3 separate regions of the Homo sapiens genome follow, and all the other regions are linked to region 3. The links are contacts of gene promoters, found by promoter capture Hi-C in human tissues and cell types (Jung and others, 2019). All regions are on one chromosome and are shown on one strand. Each heading gives the region's core, a stretch centred on a gene start or on the middle of the fragment in contact. The rest is flanking DNA. Distances are from core to core; before and after follow the strand shown.

Region 1 (3,329 bases), core at 475-2,974, 380 kb after region 3:
GAACACATTGAAGAACAAGCAGAAGGCATCTTTGGAGGAAGGAAAGTATATTTTCAGTTACTGTTTTGTAGGGAAGGCTGCTCTTCCAGAGCTCTCAGAGGCCTTCCCTTTATTATGTTAGTAAATATTTAGTCTCTGGGCTTAGGTTGTTTTGGTGCTATCTTTGGAACTGTTAGTACTCAAGTCAGAGTTAACTTGGTTGGCTTGATTGGGAGGAGAGAGAGAGTGAGAGAGAGAGAGAGAGAAAGTGTGTGTGTGTGTGTGTGTGTGTGTGTGTGTGTCCCACCTAGGACAGAAAGGATTTAAGGAGATTTCTCAAAATACCTACATTACAAGATTATTTTTACATAGTGAGGAAATGCAATCAAAAGAAGAATAGAAAGAGAGAGGGGCTCAAAACAGAGTGAAGTTAGTAAGATCATGTCCTGCTGCTGCTGCTGGGCTACAATTTTATCCCTGAGCTCCTTACAGGCTATGCAACAAAGAAAGCAAAATCTGGTCTTTCATTGTTCCTAATATTAATGTATGAACCCCTTTAAAAAAAAACCGCACTGGTCAATTTTGACTTAAGACATTATTATAATTATGGAACTCTTATACCTCCAAGTATAAAATTTGGTATAAACACCATATGCACATAGTTCTTATAATTAGCACACTTGGTTTGATTATTGCTTTATAACATATTACTCCAAAAAACTTAAGGATTCAAACCACCACCATTTTATTAATACTTCTTACAGTCCTGTGGCTTGATTAAGCTGGATGGTTCTTCTGCTGGTGGTCACTGTTGGGTCTGTCATACTGTAGTGAGGTGGTAACTGGGGCTGGCACCTCCAAGTTGGATTATTCACATTTCTGGCACTATAGCAGAGATGCCTGCAAGGCCAGAACTTCTTTCTCTCTCTGTCCATGTGGATAGCTTGGGCTTCTTTACAGCACGGTGGCTGACTCAAAAAGCAAATGTTCTAAGAGGACAAGCCAACAGTATGCAAGTGCTAATTGGGCCTCTGCTTGCATTGCATCTCCTAATATCTTATTGTTCAAGCAAATCCCATGGCCAAGCTCATTGTCAGTGTGGGAGGGGACTACATAAGGGTTTGAACACTCTGTTGGGGCCCACCAGTGTTAATAGTCTACCTCAATGCTTAATATAAAACCTGTGAAATTTGAATTAGCAACATTATGTACTATGATGGAAGATGTTTTTCTGAAACTTAAACATGGTATTGTGAGTTTAGCATAATACAGGTTCCATGTGCTGTGTGATCACTCAGCTCTCCCGCCATTTTCCTCATAGTGAACAGCATTGAAACCTTCACACCTTTTTGGAATACATAGCATGAATACAGTATTTATAAGTCTTCTCTGTGCTTTTCTTATTAGCCAGCAACCAGGAAGTTTCCACCATTTGTCATTCATTTGACTCTAAACCCAATATAGGTGCAGACCCAATAATTGACTAGCAGTGCTCAGTTATGGAGTAGTCTGCCATTTGATCTAGGATATGCTTATTAATATTTAAATATAGTCAGGCATGGTAGTGCATTCCTATAGTCCCAGCTACTCAGTATGCTAAGGCAGGAGGATCATTTGAGCATAGGAGTTTGAATTCAGCCTGGGCAACATAGCAAGACCTCATCTCTAAAAACTAAATACATAAACTAATAACTTAGGAGAAACACATCCTCTTGCAGTTCTCAGACCACAGACGAAGCCCAGCAGAAGAACACCCTATGTAGATGTTGAGAATCTAATGCTAGTCTTGTCACTTTGGCTTAAAATTTGACTTATCTTTTAATATGACATCTTCCTTGTCCCCTCACCTCATAATATAGTTGAAGATGAAGCAAGGCTGTATTGTTAAAGGAGCTAATGAAAAGTGAAATTGCATGTCTGGAGATCACAGTGCTAGAAATGCAACTAGGTTAGGTGCATCTGGGCCCAAGGGGCGTGAGAGGAGGCATTTGTCATTCATTTGGCCTTTCCCCACCTTGTGCTCCTTTAGTGAGGAGAACACCCCACTGGACTTGGATGACCACGGCGGCAGAACCTTTCTCCGTGTCCTGCTCCACTTGACGATGCATGACTACCCACCCCTGGTGTCAGGGGCCCTGCAGCTCCTCTTCCGGCACTTCAGCCAGAGGCAGGAGGTGCTCCAGGCCTTCAAACAGGTAGCTCAGGTCACCCACGTGTGTGTTGTCTGTCCAAGAAGCTGTTGTGTGCACCTAACGGATTGCGTTCATTAAGGTTCAACTGCTGGTTACCAGCCAAGATGTGGACAACTACAAACAGATCAAACAAGACTTGGATCAACTGAGGTCCATCGTGGAAAAGTCAGAGCTTTGGGTGTACAAAGGGCAGGGCCCCGATGAGACTATGGATGGTGCATCTGGAGAAAATGAACATAAGAAAACGGAGGTGAGTGAAACACAAGTTATGCTGCCAAAGTGGATGGATGGGCTTCTCGAAACTAGGGAGCATCCTCTTCTGGTTTTAGGTATAAATGTGATAGGATTTATTTTCAAGAGATCTGCTTGTTAAGTCACCAAGATCACAAGCTGTTTGCCTAGGAAATAAGCTACGAATCAAAGTTTAGCTATGTCTCCTGTGCAGCCTTGGACCATGTAGAAGAGACTGCGATATTGAGTGAATTAGCACCAGGTTTCCCTTACAGACCCACTTGGGAATTGACCTGTTCTCTAGGCATGGCCCAGCCCACTACTATCCCTTCCCAAGGAAACCCATAGCAAGTAGGTAGATGACTGGGGCATAAGCCCAGCATGACTATTGTAAAACAGTATAGAACTCCCTTTCTTTCCTAAAGGTCGATGCTAACTGTAAAAAACTGACAGTAGCCCAAGAGTTGTACAGATCACACTTGTGTTCACTTTGGTTTCTAGGAGGGAAATAACAAGCCACAAAAGCATGAAAGCACCAGCAGCTACAACTACAGAGTGGTCAAAGAGGTAAGCTCCTCCCCCACCACCATTTTTCCTTTCTTTATGAATTCTCTAAGGAGCTTTAGTTTGTGATAGTCAAGTTGAAGGTACACACATTTGAGCTTTTTTCTTCATGTGGTTTAACAGGGAGAAAGTAGAGCTCAGAGGTTAAGCTCATGGGTTTTGGCATCAGATCTGGGCTCCACACCCAGCTCTTCTACTTATTATTTTTGTCCTCAGCTTCCTCACCTTTTGTAGGTGCAACCTTTCGTAGGCACCGCATATTTCTGAAGCTTTACAATTGAAGGAAGGACTAATTGAGAATACTGTCAGGGAGTCATCTAAGTGCCTGGTACACAGTGTCCCCACTGAGAGCTGTAGTTTTTT
Region 2 (3,125 bases), core at 44-2,543, 310 kb after region 3:
GGCTGAATGAAGAATTTTTAAAACAATGGTAGCTCGTGGATTGTCTTTTTGGTCAATGAGATGGTTTTGAAGAGTTCAGATTCTGAAAGAGAAGGGACTATGTTTAATTGCTGCAACTCCAGCCAGAGTGTTGCCTGGGGTGTGGGGTAATAAGAAAGAATGAAATAGATTATTTATTGACCTCAAGGACAGGGTGTAGCAGAGATGGGCTGGATGCACGGGAAACTCCTATCTTCTTCCTGGGCACAGCTAAACTTCATTTCTTAGCTTGTCTGCATCATGGTGGGGTCTTGTGATTTCATTATCACTGAAGACATGTGAGTGCGAGTGTTGCGTTGCCTCCAGGCCAAAGCAGTGAAGAGTCGGTGTGCCTTCTCATCACTCTCTTCCCTACAGCGTCCTTCTGCTTGTGGACGTAGTGAGATCAGAGAACCTATGTGAGAATTTCTTTGGAATGTGTGCCCTATAGCAGAATGGCTGGATTACATGTTATAGGTTATACATATGTACTTACTTTGACTTATACCAGTTGCCACTCACAGTAGTGGCCCCAGTGTGAGCATTCATCAGCAGTGTAGGAAGATTTCTCTGTCCCCATTGATACTTGGCATTTTCCAGTGTCTTAGTCTATTTGTGCTGGTATAACAGGATACCACAGACTGGATAATTTATAATGAGCAGAAACTTGTTGGCTCACAGTTCTGGAGGCTGGGAAGTCCAATGTCAAGGTGCCAGCAGGTTTTGGTGTCTGGTGATGGCCTGGTCTCTGCTCTCAAGATGGTATTTCAAATACTGCATCCTGTGGAGGGGAGGATGGCTGTTCTTCATAGGGCAGAAGGACAAAAGAGCCAAGAGAGAGACCTGCCCAACCCCAAAAGCTCTTGTGTTGAGGCATTAAGCCCACTCATGATAGTGAAGCCCTCTAATCACCTCTTCAAGGCTCCACATCCCAATACCATTACATTGACAATTAAATGTCAGCATGAGTTTTGGAGGAGACAAACATTCAAATCATAAGATCCAGATTTTGTTGTTTCTTGTCAGTCTGTAGTTGTGAAAAACTGAACACCAATTGAGTACCAAAAGGTGGTTAAAAAAATTGAAATATTGGCTGGGCTTGGTGGCACATGCCTATAATCCCAGCACTTTGGGAGGCCAAGGTGGATAAATCGCTTGAGCACAGGCATTTAAGACCAGCCTGGGCAACATGGCGAAACCTTATTTCTATTAAAAAATGCAAAAAAAAAAAAGGCTTACAGGCTTACACCTGTAGTCCCAACTCCCTGAGAGGTTGAGGTGGGAGGATCACCTGAGTCTTGGAGGTTGAGGCTGCAGTGAGCAATGATGGTGCCACTGAACTCCAGCCTGGGCAACAAAGTGAGACCGTGCGTATCTCAAAAAAAAAAAAAAAAGTTTTATTTGATATATGCACATCCTTTAAAAAGTCAAATATAGGGTGTTGAGGAGGTGGGGGGTAATTAACTGCTTAATAGGTACAGAGTTTCCTTTTGGGGATGATGAAATGTTTTGGAACTAGATAAAGACGATGGTTTTACAACATTGTGACTGTAGTAAATGCCACTGAATTGGTCACTTTAAAATGGTTAATTTTATATTATGTGAATTTCACCACAAAAAAGTCAAATACTGATAAACATAACAGTATGACACCTCACGCCTTCTCACTTTCCAGAGGCAACAATTTCAAATATTTTAACATTTTCTTCTGATATTTACCACTGTGTTTCTAGATGATGTGTGTCTCTTGATGTCTGTAGATGAATGTATTTTAAATAACATTTGTCAACTTACTGTTATTGTTAGCTTTGTGACACTTCTCTGTTCCTCCTCCATCCTCCCACTAGAGTTATGTCCCAGTTTTCTGGCTAAACTAATATTCAGTCTTAATATTTTTATGACTATGTAAATATTGTTCGCTAATGAGCCAAAGACATATTGGAATTTTCATATGCAACCTTCCCCTAGAGTTAGTGATTGTCTTATTTTTCTTTATTTGCATAGCTCTTTTGTAGCGTTTACCGAGTCTTCCCTCTCTCCAATTCCTCAGCATGTTTTCCATGTGCCGGATCCATCGGATGATCTGACCCTCCTGTTCCTCACCACCGTCCTCTATCCCTGGAGCACTTTGCCTCTGCTCCAGGTTGTAGCAGTGACATGCCCTACATGGTGTCACTGTGGGACTTTCTTTCTCACATCTGTCTGTGGGATGGATGACTAGCATTAAGCATATTAAGCATACTGTCTCGACTATAGAACAAGGGTTGGCATTTGAGCTGGGCCAGGGCAACCTCTTTGATAAACAACCACACAACTATTTAAAAACTGTTCTCTCCATTTTTTGGTGGAGTACAACCTCCAGCAGCTTCCTGATTTTAGACTTGACTTTATTGTACTTTCATACCTTGTTGTTATTTCGATACAGTTCAGAATTCTAGATTGAGAATTCTTTTTAGTCAGTGTTTTTAAGATACTGCTGTGTTATATTTGAGCTTCCAGGGTTGCTGTGAGATGTCTGATGTTATTCTTATTCCTCTTCTTTTCTTTGAGCCTTCTTTTTTCTTGCTGGAAGCCTTAAGGATCTTCTCCTTGTCCCATTAGTCTGAAATTTTGCAATGACATGTATGGGTCTGTATTTTCTTATGCTGGGGAATTACTGGGTTCTTTCAACCTGGGGAGTCATCTCCAGTTCTAGGATATTATCTTGTATATTTCTTTGATTGTTTCCATACCTTCAGTTTCTTTTCCTGAATTTCCTCTTGTATTGGACCTATGGATTGTTCTGTAAGTTACTTTCCTTTCTTATTCTTTCTTTTGCCCCCTTTCCTTCCTTTCCTTTCCTCCTTTCTTCTTTCCTTACCTACCTCTCTCCTCACTCCTCCCTCTCTCCTTTCCTCTCCTTCTGCCCCTTCTCCAACTTCCATCCCCTTCTGCCGCCCTTTCCCCCTTCCCCTGCCCTTTCCCCTTCCCCCTTCCCCTGCCCTCCCCTGCTCTCCTCTGCCCTCCCCTGCTCTCCTCTGCTCTCCCCTGCTCTCCTCTGCTCTCCCCTGCTCTCCTCTGCTCTCCCCTGCTCTCCTCTGCTCTCCCCTGCTCTCCTCTGCTCTCCC
Region 3 (3,230 bases), core at 718-3,217:
TGGAGCAAATAAGAATCTAAGCAGCAAAATATAATAACTGGACAAGGATCTTCAAAGGTCATTGTAGCAGCGGCAGTAAGGGTGATTTGGGGATATGGAGAATGACAGACTTAAAGCAAAGAACTTCCAAAGTCCAAGCAAGAAATGAGAGAGCCTAGGACTAAGTGAGAAGAGGCAAAAATGAGAACATGAAGGCAGAATCAACAAGACTTACCCACCACGTCCTTAGCTATATGAGTCTAGTGAAGTGAAGGAATACAGAGTAACTGGTTTGTTGCTTTAGTGGCTCTGTAGATCACAAATTATTTTCCCAGTTAACTTTAAAGAAGAAAAAGCAAGACTGGCAGAAGAAGTCAATTCAGATTATTTTGAGTTTGAGGAGCCTGTAGGACAGAAAACAGAAATGCTCAATCATTAGCTGAATATGCGTAACTGGATTTGAGGAGAAACGTCTGATCTGGGTTGGAGACTGGTGACCTAATCCTTTATATTTGAAGCCATGGGAGTGGATGTTATTAATGAGAAAGTTCAGGGAAGGGGAGCAAAGAAAAAGGTCAAGGGCAGAACCCTGAATCACACCCACTTTTCAGAAACAGTCAGGCAGGAAAACAACAAGAGGATACTAACAAGGAAAGGTCTGCAAGATGGAAACACATTTAGGCCAATGGGACCTCAGAAGCTGCAAGGTCAGAAGGGTTTGTGAACCCAAAATTATCTGAGACAGGTCTCAATTTAGAAAGTTTATTTTCCCAAGCTTAAGAATGCGCCCCCAACATAGCCTCAGGCAGTCCTGATGACATGTGCCCAAGGTGGTTGGGATACAGCTTACTCTCACACATTTTAGGGAGACATAATACATCAATCAATACATGTAAGATTGGTTGGATCTGGAAAGGCAGACAACGAGAAGCGGGTGAGGGGTGGCTTCCAGGTCATAGGTAGATTTAAAGATTTTCTGATTGGCAACTGGTTATTATCTAAAGACCTAAAATCAATAGAAACGAATGTCTGGGTTGCAATAAGAGGTTGTGGATACCAAATTTGATCGTGGAGATGAAGCCTCCAAGAGGTAAATTTCAGAGAACAGATTGTAAATGTTTCTTATCAGACTTAAGGTGTGTGTTGATGTTGATGCTGGCTGGCTTTTCCTGAATTCCAAAAGGAAGAAGGGCATAATGAGGCATGTTGGACCCCCCTTCCCATCATGGCCTGAACCACTTTCTCAGGTTAACCTTGGCAGAGAGGAGGGGTCCCTTCAGATGGTTTGGAGGATTGGAATTTTATTTTTGGTTTACAGTTTCAAGGAGAAGCAGGACAATCATGTCAGAGAGCTTCAGTGAGGTTGAAAATGCTCCACCGGATTCAGCAGTCTTGAGGCTATCAGAATCCTTTGGCAGGGCAGGGGTTTGGAGGGGTGAGGGTAGAGGGATGGAGAGGAGGGAAAAGGACAGGCAAAGGGGCACGGATACCTCCATCAGGGAGTGAGCATGCCCCCACACAAATTCCTTAAGGCACCCTGTGAGGCTATCGCCTTGGCACAAACCCTATCACATGTCAGTCAACTTCCCGGCAAGCCGCAGACCTTTAGAAACCTTGGTGTGCGTTTCCCCGCTCGGTTTAGAACGCACCCCTGCCTCCACTCCACAAACGTGCAGTGAGCCCTCAAAAACCTGGACAAATGACCTCACCTCGAAAGCCCCCTCTCTGATGCTCCCAGGAAAAACTAAAGCACCTCACTTTGTTTCGTCCGTACCTTACATGGTTTTGTAATTATCTGTGGTGCCTCTGGCTGAAATCAAAACGGGAGCCAGACCCAAAAAGTCAAGGAAGGGAAGCGCCTTCCAGGCCACTCCTGAGAAGAAACGAACTACAATTCCCATGAGGCGGTGGGGCCACGGGACCACAAGTCCCAGCATCCACCGCGCGGCCCAGGACTGTCAGGGTAGTGGGCGTTGCGTGAGGCGGGTAAATGTTCGCGGAAGCGGCAAAGACGACACGGCCTTGTGGGATGGCGGAGTTTAAGGAGAAGCCTGAGGCCCCGACTGAGCAGCTGGATGTCGCGTGCGGCCAGGAAAACTTGCCGGTGGGCGCGTGGCCCCCGGGGGCCGCGCCGGCGCCCTTCCAGGTAGGGGCGGGGCCAGGCGGCGCGGGAGGCGGGCGCGCGGCTCCCCCACGTGGTCTCCTCAAGCCGCCTCGCTGGGACGGCCTCCCAGTCGCGACCTTTTGTCTTCTCTTACAGCGCACCCGTTGGTGCGCGGGAATAGGTGTGCATGCCCCGGCCTGGGCCTTTTTCTGTTGACCCACGGCATCACCTTAGCAAGGGTGTTGTCCTTTTCAGTCCATTCCCTGAAGCGCAGAACCGGAGGCCTTGTGAGAACCTGGCTTTTTGTCCAGTCCTGTCCTCAGAACTCAAGGAGGCATCACGGGGGGAGTCATTTACCTCCCTGGTCTCAGGTGTCTCTCACAGGTAGGATAAGCCGTGGGGCCTATTAATGGATCGCAGCCGGTGTCGTGCATAAAAACAGCCCCTCGAGTCAGCCTTAGCTGTGGTCTCCCTCACGCTGTGGGCTCTTGGGCGAGTGTAAATTAGCTGTGGCTCAGCCTTAGAGTCTTCCAGCGTACAGTGGAACAGTACCTCTCTTCCGGAGTGCTTTGAAAATGGCAAGGAAAATACACTTTCCGGTTTGCTGTAAGAACTCAGTAAATGTTTGCTTCTATTAACTACCTCAAAGCCCTTTCTACTCTCCTTTTTCTTTTTGAGACTGAGTCTCGCTCTGTCGCCCAGGCTGGAGTGCACTGGCGCGATCTCGGCCCACCGCAACCTCCACCTCCCGGGTTCAAGCGATTCTCCTGCCTCAGCCTCCCGAGTAGCTGGGATTACAGGCATGGGCCACCACGCCCGGCTAATTTTTGTATTTTTAGTAGAGACAGGGTTTCTCCATGTTGGTCAGGCTGGTCTCGAACTCCCAACCTCAGGTGATCCGCCCGCCTCGGCCTCCCAAAATGCTGGGATTACAGGCATGAGCCACGCTCCCAGCCTCTACTGACTTTCTTATCCCTCCGACCTTGGCCTGAGCGTTACCCAAGGAATAAGGAATGACCAAAGATTTTGAAGTGGAAAGAGCGCTGGACGTGGAAGTTGGAGAGTATGGTTCGGAGCTTAGACATCTTAGCTACTTCCCAGAGCCTGAGTTTCTTCATCTGCAAAATGAAAATAATAATTTAAAAAT

Evidence for each region. The method cuts DNA at HindIII sites, captures the fragments that hold promoters and counts their contacts. A contact is called where the count stands out against the background at its distance.
Region 1: a contact is called between a fragment that was not itself captured here and the fragment with the promoter of SETMAR in region 3, in 1 of the 25 tissues and cell types used here (H1 embryonic stem cells).
Region 2: a fragment that was not itself captured here is called in contact with the fragment with the promoter of SETMAR in region 3 in 1 of the 25 tissues and cell types used here (heart left ventricle).

The regions. Positions count from the first base shown.
Region 1 is chr3:4,681,378-4,684,706 of GRCh38, forward strand. It overlaps ITPR1 (inositol 1,4,5-trisphosphate receptor type 1), which reads left to right. Exons shown (of 62, transcript NM_001378452.1): 26 at 1-41; 27 at 2,009-2,174; 28 at 2,251-2,421; 29 at 2,904-2,969. Among named protein-coding and RNA genes, the nearest start is that of EGOT, 69 kb to the right of the region's middle. The HindIII fragment of the contact is 4,756 bases long and covers 1-3,329 here.
Region 2 is chr3:4,616,593-4,619,717 of GRCh38, forward strand. All of the region lies in intron 4 of ITPR1 (inositol 1,4,5-trisphosphate receptor type 1), which reads left to right. Among named protein-coding and RNA genes, the nearest start is that of ITPR1, 120 kb to the left of the region's middle. The HindIII fragment of the contact is 5,753 bases long and covers 1-3,125 here.
Region 3 is chr3:4,301,402-4,304,631 of GRCh38, forward strand. It overlaps SETMAR (SET and mariner transposase domain methyltransferase), which reads left to right and starts at 1,968. Exons shown (of 3, transcript NM_006515.4): 1 at 1,968-2,125. The coding sequence starts at 1,970. It also overlaps a transcript of SUMF1 not described here. RefSeq lists enhancers at 1,565-2,307, 2,336-2,405 and a silencer at 1,906-2,245. The HindIII fragment of the contact is 5,892 bases long and covers 95-3,230 here.